Regions from separate parts of the Homo sapiens genome. Here region 1 is linked to region 2. The links are contacts of gene promoters, found by promoter capture Hi-C in human tissues and cell types (Jung and others, 2019). All regions are on one chromosome and are shown on one strand. Each heading gives the region's core, a stretch centred on a gene start or on the middle of the fragment in contact. The rest is flanking DNA. Distances are from core to core; before and after follow the strand shown. Region 1 overlaps KCNJ12 (potassium inwardly rectifying channel subfamily J member 12). Region 2 holds the start of MAP2K3 (mitogen-activated protein kinase kinase 3).

The links. The method cuts DNA at HindIII sites, captures the fragments that hold promoters and counts their contacts. A contact is called where the count stands out against the background at its distance.
Region 1: a fragment that was not itself captured here is called in contact with the fragment with the promoter of MAP2K3 in region 2 in 4 of the 25 tissues and cell types used here (bladder, dorsolateral prefrontal cortex, mesendoderm cells and 1 more).

The regions. Positions count from the first base shown.
Region 1 is chr17:21,416,217-21,422,055 of GRCh38, forward strand. KCNJ12 (potassium inwardly rectifying channel subfamily J member 12) reads left to right here. Exons shown (of 3, transcript NM_021012.5): 3 at 1-3,654. The coding sequence ends at 428. Among named protein-coding and RNA genes, the nearest start is that of KCNJ12, 43 kb to the left of the region's middle. The HindIII fragment of the contact is 7,187 bases long and covers 1-5,033 here.
Region 2 is chr17:21,279,898-21,286,047 of GRCh38, forward strand. It overlaps MAP2K3 (mitogen-activated protein kinase kinase 3), which reads left to right and starts at 4,814. Exons shown (of 12, transcript NM_145109.3): 1 at 4,814-5,072. The coding sequence starts at 5,024. RefSeq lists enhancers at 110-189, 3,886-4,386 and a silencer at 4,273-4,802. The HindIII fragment of the contact is 7,420 bases long and covers 1-6,150 here.

The DNA.
Region 1 (5,839 bases), core at 190-2,689, 130 kb after region 2:
ACTTTGAGATCGTGGTCATCCTGGAAGGCATGGTGGAGGCCACAGCCATGACCACCCAGGCCCGCAGCTCCTACCTGGCCAATGAGATCCTGTGGGGTCACCGCTTTGAGCCCGTGCTCTTCGAGGAGAAGAACCAGTACAAGATTGACTACTCGCACTTCCACAAGACCTATGAGGTGCCCTCTACGCCCCGCTGCAGTGCGAAGGATCTGGTAGAGAACAAGTTCCTGCTGCCCAGCGCCAACTCCTTCTGCTACGAGAACGAGCTGGCCTTCCTGAGCCGTGACGAGGAGGATGAGGCGGACGGAGACCAGGACGGCCGAAGCCGGGACGGCCTCAGCCCCCAGGCCAGGCATGACTTTGACAGACTCCAGGCTGGCGGCGGGGTCCTGGAGCAGCGGCCCTACAGACGGGAGTCAGAGATCTGAGCCAACCTTGGCCGACATGCAGCATCCACCCCCGGCTGGGGAGAGGCCCCGCGGTCGCTCAGGGGCCCCGGGTTTGAGCAGAACGGGCCCAGTGCCCTGGGTTGCAGACTCAGTAGCGTTTTAGTCGTTTTATGTTTCTTTGCAACGGCCTCAGAAGTTTGGCCGGAGAGGGGGCAGCCAGAGCGGCAGCCCCCGGCCTCAGAGGCTATCACAGGCTCAGGGCAAAGAAGTGGCCTCCTGGGGGGCCAGGCCACGAGGGCCAGGGCTTCTGCCTGAAGATGGAGCTGCAGCCTGCGGGGAAGCAGCTCAGCTCGATGGTGGGCCCAGCCTCTGCTGTCCAAGGCTGGCTAGCTGCGGTGCTCCTTGCTGGTTTTTAACTTGGGGAGAAACACCGGGTTTCAGCTTTCTTGACCTTAGCTTGGGTGAGACTGTTTACAAAAAAAAAAAATTACCATGCAATTGAAAAAATTTTTTTTTAATTCACAGGGGGCAAAAAGAACAATTAGAATTCCATGGGTCTGCCAGGATGCAGCAGCTGGCTGAAGGCTCCAGAGGGTTCCCCGAGGTGGGACTGGCCTCTCCCCGTGTGTGTGGGCACCACAGTCCCTGGGCAAGCAGGGTGCTCTGGGACCGCACTTCATCGAGCTCACGAGCCAGCTAGGCTCTGTTTGTGATAGAAAAATCAAGACCATGTTAATGATCGTAATAAAAGCTTTCTACTGTCGTTGGGGTGGTGGGTGGGGCTGGGAAGAAACTGGTTTGAGCTTTTAGAGTTTGCCTTTGTACCTTAGAGATGTGTCTCAGGGCCAGGCATGGGACCTGCCATCGAGGGTTCCTCCCCGCACCCTCGATTTTCCTGTTTTGCTTCTCTCTCCATTTCTGTCCAGGCCTCCGCCCAATTCCACAGTGAGGGGTGGTTAGGAGCTATAGGCCGGGATGGCTCCTTGGGAAGGGAAGTCGGGATCCCAGGCTAGGAGGAAGCTGGCAGCCCCGTCCCCACTGGGCCCACAGTGTGAGTCGTGCCTTAGAGACTCCGGGTTGTCCTGTTCTTTCTGGGCTTGCTCATCTCCCCCCAACCCTGTCCCACCCCACCCCTCCCATACCTCCACTGCTGAAGTTCCTCCAGCCCCTCTGTCTGCCTTGTGAAGGTGGCAGGGGCCAGGTCTGCCTGACATAGGACCACATCCTGTCCCTCCCTCACCTGGAGCAGCACAGCAGAGTTCAGGCAGGGCACAGCCAGGCCCTGGTCAGCGCTGAATGGCAGAGGAAAGATCTTAGGAAAGGAGAGGAATCGCCACCCCCTCCTGCCAACTGGGATGACTGGGGAGGGCCACGCTCATTCAAAGCTGAATCAGAAACCAGCCGTGGAACAGAATTCCTGCCGAGTCTTCCAGGGCCGCTCCTCCACCACCCTCCCCCAGGTTGAGGCACTATGGCACCCTCATCAGGAAGAGGTTTGGGGTCCCCTTGTTGTCACTGCTGGCTCTGCCACCCCATCTTGTTCATGGCAGCTGGTTGGGTCAGGTCCATGGTAGAGCCAGGCCCTTCCCAGGGCTGCGGAGAAAACCTGCTCTCTTCTAGTCGGGCTTCTCCAGAAGCCAGTAATCAGAAAGGATGTGTCTCCTGCTCCAACTCTGCCCCCGAGACAGCTCAGAGCCAGAAGGCACCCCGAGACAGCTCAGAGCCAGAAGGCACCCCGAGACAGCTCAGAGCCAGAAGGCACCGAGGACTCTGGCCCAAGTGGGGAAGCTGAGGCAGAGAGCAGAGGGGGTCATGCAGTGAGTGGGTGGGGTGCAGGAGACAGAGAGGGGCTGGGGGCGTGGGGTGGGGGTGTCTGCCTCTTCCCTCCACCTCCTCCCCTCCTTAGCAGCTGAAGACTCAGCCCTGAGGTCTGGGGCAATGGAAGTCAAGACACCCGACCCCTACATCCTGGGGTAGGCCCGACTCAGCATCCTGTCCCAGCTTCAGCCCCACACTCATTTCTGGCATAGAAGATTCCGCCGAGGCAGCTCTTTCCTCTCGGGGTCTGCCAGGGGTGCCTCAGCTGGTTCCTGCTCCCAGGCCTAGCCCCGAAGCCTTAGGGGCCTTCTCAGCCTTAGCCCTGGGTACTGGGGTGAAGTTGGCAGGGGAGAGCTTGACACTTCGCCTCCCTGATGGCCATGCTGAGGGACAGTGGTGACCCTGGTCACTTGGTGCTGGTGTAGGGGCCTGTGCCCTTCCAGGGCCAGTGAGACAGCCTTCTACTCCCCCGACCCAGAGCTGAGTCCGAGGACCCCAGGCCCACCTCCTGGCCCTCTTGGAGGTCTGTGCTCTTACCTCCCAGCCCCCACCCTGCGGGAGAGCAGCCCCAGCGCCTCATCTCCCCAAAGGCGGCAGATGCTTGATTCTCCTGCCCTCTTTCTTCCTTCCCTCGTATTTATTTATTTATTTATTGCTTGTGCTAAAGACCAAAATAGTCTCCCTCTTTAGTGCACTTGAAGCGGGAGGGCGGATGGGATGAGCCAGGAGCGAGGAAGACTTGGCCCCTGGGGAGTGTGTGTGTGGAGGCGTGTGCCTGTGTGAGCCTGCATGCATACATGTGTGGTGCACACATGCACACTCGGCTCTTCATGTGTATGACTGGGTTAGTAATACAGATACGTGATCTATACGTGTGTGTGTGTGTGTGTGTGTGTGTGTGTGTGTATGCAGGCGGTTATGTGTCTGTCTACCCCCAGGTGTTTCCGTGTACAAGTTTCCTGTGAGGGAGGGCACCCACCCATCAGGTTGGGCACTGGCACAGGTGAACCCCACAGTCCCCGACCCTCTGCCCTGATTATGCACGTCTGCTCCTGAGTGGAGCTTGTGTTCCAGGATGAGACATCTGGAGGTGAGCGTGTGCGTCCGGCTCGTGTGTAGGAGGCTGTGTGTGTGCCCATGTGAAACCGTGTACTTGAGTGTGTGTCTGTGTGCAGCCTATGCCTGCTGCTCAGAGCACGGTGGCCACCCCCTGAGCCTCTGCTGGTGCTGTGCTGCGTGGTCCCCACCCAGAGGGTCCTGGGGGGCGGGGAGGAGCCACCGTTGGGAGGCCCCTGTACGGGGTGTCTGCCCTGCGTGAGGGCATAGAATGTCAAATTATTTTAAATGGTGAAACTGGAGAGTTTTCATGTTATTTTCAATACATAGCAGTATCTAAAGACGTAGGCGATGAGACTAGACCACATTAAATGCATTTTGATCTCTTTGAGGTCCCCTGTGTTGAGATGTGTTTTCTGAAGTTCCCCTGCATGGCTCCACAGCGTGCTGGGCGTCCGCCCGGCTTCCTCAGCCTCCGCCTTGGGTGGGGGTTTCCTGGGGCTTCCTCATGGGTGAGGGTGGGGCATGGTGGCAGCTGTTGGGAGATGGAACAGAACTCAGCCTCCTTGCAGCTCCCAGTGGTCTCCAGCAAGCACACAGGGCTTGTCCCATGATGTCACCCATCCCAGGCGGCAGGGCCGAGCCTCCTGCCTTCCCTTCCTTCTGCAAGGATGTGCTGGGTGCCTGCTGTTGCAGCAGCGCCCTCCCCAGCTGGGGGAGGCTGACCTGAGACAGGCAACTCCTTTCCCAGGAGGGGAAGCCCTGCTCCAGCTTGTAGCAGGCAGGGGCTGAGGAGGAGTTTCAGAGCGTGCCAATGTCTCCACTGAGGTGACGAGACAAGCCTGGAGTGGGGTGAGGGAACACACACGGCCCAGTTTTGGGAAACTAGACTTTCATCTGTACCTTGAGGCTCAGCCCCAGATCTCCAAGGTCTTCAGCAGGGACTTGTGGGGAGAGAATTCCTTCCCTTCCCAAACTATGTGAGTGGAGAGTTCTCCACTCCTCTGCATCAGCAAAGGACTCAGGGCACCCTCTTTCTGCAGGATTTCGATGATGATTCCAGACAACCCCGGATAAGAATCCCCTGCCTGAGTCATTCCTGGGTGATGGTGCCGTGCATGGCAGAATGTGGAGCAGGGGCTTGGGTGCCAGGGCCTAGGGGGTCATGAAGGCTTCCCAGTGGGAGCTCCCTTGGGTTGGACTTGGGGTGACCCGGGGACCCTGGAGGTGGCTTGGTTTGGTGGGGACCTCCTTTCTGACTCTGGGGCCCTCCTGGGACCCCAGTAGCAGGATCAAGGCCAACTGGGGCCAAAACACGGTAGCATCTGTCTTCACTCAAGCCCTCCGGGCCATTCCCATGGCGCTGACTGGTAGGCATGAGGCCCTGGCCCCAGTTGGTGCTCAACAAATGCTTATCGTAGAGTCTCCAGGTGCGCTGTCCTGGCTGTACTAATGCCGCAAAGGGCCCTGGGTCAGAATGCAGGCCACTCATTTGCTGGGGGACCTCCTGTGAATTCCTTTCCCCCTCCAGCCTCGGTCTCCTGATCTGCAAAAAGGGGGTGTTCATAAGAATGGCCAGCTCACAGGTTTGTTGGAAAGGAGGAGAAAGAACCCTGACATAGTGAGTGCTCCTCAGTGCCTGCCTTCTGCTAAGTCAGATTGCACTGGCACTGCCCGCCCTCCTGAGGGGCACCCGGAGGTGCTGCTCTGGCTCAAGGTCACAGCAAGGAACACATAGCCCAGGCCTAACCCCAGGTCTGCGTGACTTCCATGCACTTCCCTGCCTCTCCAGGGATGATGTGAGCCCAATCCAGAATCTGCTTTAAAACAGGTAGAGCTGGGATGGGGGTGGAGAGCTTGTGAGCGTTCACTGAGCGCCTGCGAGCTTGATGTTTGAGGTCTGTCAGGCCCCACCCTTGATCTTGGGCTGGCCCGTGTCAGCAGGCCTCAGAGGCACTGCTAACCTATTTTAGAGGAGGTTGGTCGAGGGAAGCTAAGGGACTTGCTCGAGGCCCCCACAGGGTAGTTCCTCAAGCTGGGATCTAAGCCAGGCCCTGGGCCCTTCAGTCAGTTGACCCAGATGCTGCCACCCTGCTGGGCACTGGACACCTCAGGGCCTCTGCCTGCTGGTGACCAGGGCTGGGCTGCGGTCTCTGCCAGTGGAGGGGTGCCCCAGCTGGGGCCTGCCCTGGACTCATCTCCACTTTTCCCTTCCTAAAACCGGTCTGCAGGGAGGACCCCCACAACTTGGGAGGAATCACAGCCCAGATCAGAGCTGCCTGTGTGCTCCCCAACAGCAGTGGGGGCCCCAAGGACACATCGGACCCCCTTCAGCCCACTCTCCACCCGGCACCAGAGTGGTCTTCTTACAACCAGAATCAGGCCTTGCAGTTCCCTGCCTGAAACCCTCCCTGGCTTCTCCTTAACACTGGCAATAAAACCCCAGCTGCTCCTTGCCCGCTTCACCTCTGCAAGCCCGCCCCGTGCAGCCCAACCTTCCCTGCTCTCACTCCTGCTCCTGCCCCTCTGCTGCAGGCACCCTGTCCCTTGGTTTCCCTGACATTCCACATGTCCCC
Region 2 (6,150 bases), core at 3,564-6,063:
CAAAGAAAGGTTCAAAGAGGAAAGCTTGAATTCAGAGTGGCTGGACTGGGGGATGTCTGGAGAAGTCACCAGGGGTTGGAGTGTTGGAAGTTGCCCGCCTAGGGAGCCAGGGCAGGACTTAGAACTTGGCCAGCCGTGTTTGGGAAGGCTCTGGCTGCAGTGTGGAAGGCCTGGGGGCAGGCAGCACAGAGAAGAGGAGGCTGGATGGCCGTCAAAGCAGTGAGGGCAGTGGATCCTGTGCTCCTGGGCACTCTAGAGCACTGCCGGGCCCTGGTCACCAGAGGGCGCTGTGGGGCAGCAAGCAGTGGAGGCCCCAGCTGGTGGCAAGGCTATGCATAGACCATGTGCACCGCTGTGCCTGTGGGTTGTGTCTGTGGACGTGACCATGTGGTCCCTCCACATGAACGTACACACTTGTGCACCCCCTTGTGTCATGTGTGTGTGCATGTGTATTTGGGGTGTGTGGACTTGCACAGGTGTGAAGGGGCACGTGGGAGTGAGTACGTCCAAGGGGGTGTATATAGGTGAGAACAGGGACTCCTCAGCTCCCACCACCCAGCCACATCGGTCTCCTTGTTACTCGCCTACAAGCCATCCACCTCAGGGCCCTTGCACAACTGTTCCCTCTGCCTGGAATGCTTTTCCCCCGGATCTCTTTGTGGGTCCTTCCGTTAAGTCCTTTGGTCTCTGTTTATGTGGCACCTTCCAGGGAGGCTTTTCCTGACCTCCCTCCTTAAAATTATAGCCCCCATGTCCAGACACACACCCTGTCCCCTCCCCTACTTTCCCCCATAGCATTTGTAATAATTTTTTGTTTTTTGAGACAGGGTCTTGTTGCCCGCCAGGCTGGAGTGCAGTGGTATAACCTTGGCTCACTGCAGCCTTGACCTCCTGGGTTCAAGTGATCCTCCCACCTCAGCCTCCTGAGCAGCATGCCACCATACCCAGCCAACTTTTTTTTTTTTTTTTTTTTGTAGAGACGAGGTTTTGCCATGTTGCCCAGGCTGGTCTCAAACTGCTGGGCTCAAACGATCCACCTGCCTCGGCCTCCCAAACTGCTGGGACTATAAGTGTGAGCCACCATGCCTGGCCTGACATAATTTGACTTAGGCATTTTGCTTGTCTGGCTCACACACCAGGTCATACCTCCCCAGGGAGTTGTGTCCATCTTGTTCAATGTTGTGTTCTCAGTGCCAGTCACACAGTAAGTGCTCAATGAATATCTGTTGAATGAATGAAGGAGCTGCCCACATCCTGGGTTTGGGTCAGCCTCTCTCTTTTTTTTCCCCCATCATCAGTATTTATTGAGCATTTACAGTGTACTAGGCACAATAGAACATACAGAAAACATTTCCCTGCCCTTGAGGAGCTTACATTTTAAAAGAAAAAATACACCTCTTTTAAAATGGCATTTTTGTTTGGTGTTTTCTGCAAAGTACCGAGGAAATATTTTGTAAAGTGATGCTTTGGGTATAACTTAGCCCCATCATTATTTAAAGAATAGAGGAAGAAGAAAGAGGAAGGATTTTAAAGGCAGACAATGACAGACCATTCAGGATAGGTAGGGTTTTAAAGGGAGATAAACACAATCTCATCGACTAAGGAGAGATTTGCTGTAGTAAATAGGATGAGGGAAATAGTCTGTGGGATGCAAGCAAAGGAAGCAGGGTGCCTTAGACATTGATTGGAGCCAGAAAGATCATGCGGCCTTTTTCCAAGTACATGGCCACCAAGTAGGAATGGTTGGTGACAAGACAGAAGGCTAAAAAAGGAAGGTAATCTTGTGCACCTGACAAATAGAAAGAATAAAGGATCAAAATCGAAGGCAGGCTACAATAGTATCAAGAAATTCTTAAAAACCAAAAAGTGATTTGGAAGCACAAAACTTATAGTTAATGCTATTGAGTCAGCCTCTCTTTACAGCCTTCTGTCACCCCAGGTCCTGCCCACCTCAGATCATGCTTGCATCCTGACTTTGGCCACAATCCTTCCCATCCAGAGACTCAGTTTCCTGCATCCACAGAGAGCAGGTTTGGGACTTTTCTCCTAGGAATCAAGGTAAGAGGCAGCCTCTTGTGACCCATGTCAAACATTTATTCTGCTTTCTGCATGGTCATGGAGTTCCCCAATCTGACTGTGCCACTTACAGACAGAAAGAAATCAAGAGATGTCACTATAGCAAGCCAGCAAGAGACCTTTGTCTCTGATGGTTCTTGATGGTACTTCTTGAGCTCCAGTGGTGCAGCTGTGCATCCCAGTCTGGCCCTCACCTGGTCCTCATGTGTGGCCCTTTTTACATCTCCAACCCATTGCCTCTGCTGTTCCTTTCCAGGGATGCTCTTCTTGCTTCTCTGCCTGGTAAGCTCCTACTGGTCCTTAAAAGTCCAGTCTCAAAATCACCTCCTCTGAGAGGCCTTCCTTGTCCCCACCCAGATGGAGATGGCTGCATCACCCAGGCACCCTCCTGGGACTTTTGCTCATGCATCTATTTATAGCACTCACATGGAGTTTTGTGATTCCTGAGCTGTTTATCGGGCTCCTGACTAATCCCCAAACTCCTTGTATGCGAGGGCCTGTCTGAGTCATCTGGCCGCCAAGGAGGTTGGCACGGGACTGGAGTCGCTTCACCCTGGTCTGTGGATGCTTTCCTCCTTCCTTTTTTCATTCCTCAAATATTTATCAGGCACCTACTATGTGCCTGGTTCTGGGCTATGCATTGGGAACACAGCAGGGAATGAGGCTCGGATGGTCTGGAGGGAGAGCTGTGTTAAAAACTGAGTCAGTAACAAAGACATCAGCAGCATAAGTGTTGTGCCTCAGTCTGGGGACCATGATGAGAAGGCCTCTTAGGGGTGTTCATTTAGGAAGCGGTCTGAGGGATGAGAGGGAACCAGCCCCAGGAGGCTTGAGTGGAAGAATGTTCTGGGCAGGAGCAGCAAGGGTGAAGCTGCTGCGGCAGGACCATCCCTGGCACATTTGAGGGGCAATACTGAGACTCTTGAACATCCCAAGAAGCAGAGTGCACAAGGCGGAGTGTGGCCTTGTGCAGAAGTCAAGGCTGTTGGCCAGTGCCTGAACCCAGAAAACTCGCTGGACTAGCCTTGCAGTTCTGGTAGAAAGGAAGCTGCTCCTGGATGCCCATTTTACAGACGGATAAGCACAGGTCACCAGGGATGATATGGCAAGGATGGAGGCAGCCCACAGTGTTTTCAAACTCACATTTCCTGGGCACCTAGTGAGTGCCAAGCCCTAGGCCAGGTGTTTCCACTCCTGAACTCATGAAACGCTTTCAGAGACCTTATTGTCCCCATGGGATAGGTAAACTGAGGCACAGAGCTGCTCAGTGACTTCTTTAAGGTCATCCAGCTAGTAAGTGGAGGAATTGGTATTGGAACCCATACCTATCTGAGCCCCAGACTCATGATTTTCCATCCCACTGCCTGGGAAGGGTGAACAGGAGACGCAGGAAGAGAATGGTGATGGCTGCAAGGCTTCCCTCTTATCTCCTGTGGCTCCCCACTCTGTGCATGGGGCCCTGCATCACCCCCACTTTACACCTGGGCAAGCAGAGGTCAGGCCCGGCCTCAAGCCTTTCTAGCAGGTGGTGGAATCTGCTTCCCTCACGTGAGGTCCCTGACAGGGTACACATGTCTGCCTGGAGGCCAGGGGCTGACCCCTTGACCTTTGCCTGGTACATTCTGCCTTCACTAGCCCTGGCTTTACATCCAGAGTCATCTGTTCCCAGCGCCAGATTGGTCAGCGGTTCCTGAAATCCCCCGAGGTTCCGTGTGGGAGCAGAGGGAGGACTGGCCCATCCAGCCATTATGCAGATGGGCAGACTGAGATCCTAGGAGGAGAGGAGAGAACGAAGGTCCAGGAGAGAGCCAGGATGGGGCCTCGGGGCTCGCGGGATAAAATGCACCGCATGCCGCCTCACTCCCTCTGAGACACGGTTTCCCCCTGTGTAGAACAGGGGCAGCAGTAACCAGCCACGAAAACTCCTCGTGCTGCCTCGTCACCGGGCATCGCTGAGCTCACCACCGACCCCGCGCCCTGGCCGGGCGCCTGGAGCGCGGGCGCGGGCGACGTTTGCTGGCGCCAGGCCCTCAGTGCGTGTTAGCGAGCAGCGCCGGGAGATAGCTGTCACCGCCGCCCGCTCACAGATGCGTAGACTGAGGCTCAGGTGTCACCACCTGACCAAGGCTAGTTCCGCTACAAAGCTGCCGACTCGGATCCGAACCCGGGTCCAATTTACAGAAAAGGAAACTGAGGCCCAGAGACACTAGGGAGCTTGCTAGGGTGAGGCAGCTGCAGGTTCAGAGAGCCAGGAGGCAGCCCAGCAGCGCACTTTTAACCCCCGCCCACTTCGGCAGGCCCAGCCGTGCCACCTTTAGGGATCTCGGGTTTTTTCCAGACGACGCACCCAGGAGAACGCGCCCGCGCATCGCACCCGCCGGGGCTGCGGGTCTGGGGGTGCCGGGCTGGGCCTGGGCGCCTGCAGGGAGCAGCGGGCTCAGTGGGTCCCGGGAGTGGGTGGGGCTTGCATGTTGACGGGCAGCGCGAGGGGCGCGGCTTTAGTCCAGGGGGCGGAGCCTGACCGGACCTGGGTTTTTCGGGCGGCTGGCGGACTTGACAGAGAGCGGGAGGGGCCCGGATCCTGGGCCTAAGGAGGGTGGGGCGTGTGCTTGACAGGCAGGGACAGGCCGGCGTCTGATAGGCAGAGGACGGGCCTTGGAAACGAAAGGACCAATCGGGCACGCAGGGGCGGGGCCTGAGTCAGCGCAGTTCGGCCGGGGTCTCCCCGGCGCTGCCCAGTCTGTCTCCGGCGCCGCCCGTCGCGGACTCGTCCTTGCTGCAGTCGCCGCCGCAGTCCTCGCCGCAGTCGCCGCCGCCGCCGCCGCCGCCGCCGCTGCTCCTCCGCCTGGCCTGGGCCGTCTGCCCGCAGCCATGAGCGTGCTCGGCCCCGGTGGAGCCCGCAGTCCTCTAGATTAGTCTCCACCGCCGTCCAGGACCCACTTGCAGCATGGAGTCGCCCGCCTCGAGCCAGCCCGCCAGCATGCCCCAGTCCAAAGGTAGGCGCTCCCGGCCGGGACCTCGGCCTGACCCCGCGCCTAATCTGGGGCCGGGCTGCAAACCCCGACCTTTCTTTGGTCCCACCCCATCCTGTTCTCGACCTGGCAGCGGCGTCCGGTCCCGGAACCCCTTCCTGTTCGGGGTCCCGGGACCAGCCCCCGCCTGGGCCCTCACCTGGACCCCCACGTTAGGCCTTGGGACTGCACTCAGGCCCGAGATCACCCAGGCTGGACCCAGACTAGGACTTTGTTCTGCTCACCCCATCCAAGTCAGGAGCCTCATTCTGACCTCATTTGGGCCTTATGGCTGCAGCCTGGACATGAACTCTCCCAGTCTTCTCCCTCAGCGGGACCCAGGTGAGATTCACACTGGCCTTCACCTGGGTCCTTGGGCAGCACCCAGTCCCATTTCTAGCTTCGGGTCCCAGGGCTGTATCCAGGTTGGGATTTAACTTGAGTCTCCATCTGGGCCCCAGAGTGCTCCTGTTGTTGCGGACCTCACTGTACCCCCTATGCGGGTGCTCTGGCTACACCCCAGCTCGGAACTCCCCGTCCTTCTCTCCCCCAGCTCTTCTTATCCTTATAGGCCCTATGTTGCCCCTTCCCTGGCTGGCCTGCACCCTGTCCTGCAGCCCTGGGCTCCCAGGAACCTTCCTTGTCCTCCCACCCCTCCCTAAGGTACAGCCCCCTCTCTACCGGCCTCTCTCTGTCTTGAGTTGCAAGCTTCTCCCTGCACTGGGGGTTCTCACCCCATCTTATTCTTGTCCTGGCTGCCTGGGATCTGGGCCAGCCGCCAGGCCAGGGTGCTGGCTGTGCAAGGGATTTGCTCTTCTCCAAGTAGCTGGCCTTCCTGGAAATTTTTGTGAGGTGGCAGCAGCAGGATTTGTCATGCGGAGGGGGAAGGATGAAACTCGGAGGGCAAAAGGGGAATTTTTTTTTTTTCAGGAAGAGGAAAGGATGTTTTTGGTGCGTCGGAGTTTCAGTAGGCTGGGTTGTGCGAGAGATTTCCAAACCGGACATAGCCGTAATGAATGGGCTGCCTCCTGGCTTTCTGAACCTGCAGCTGCTTCACCCCAGC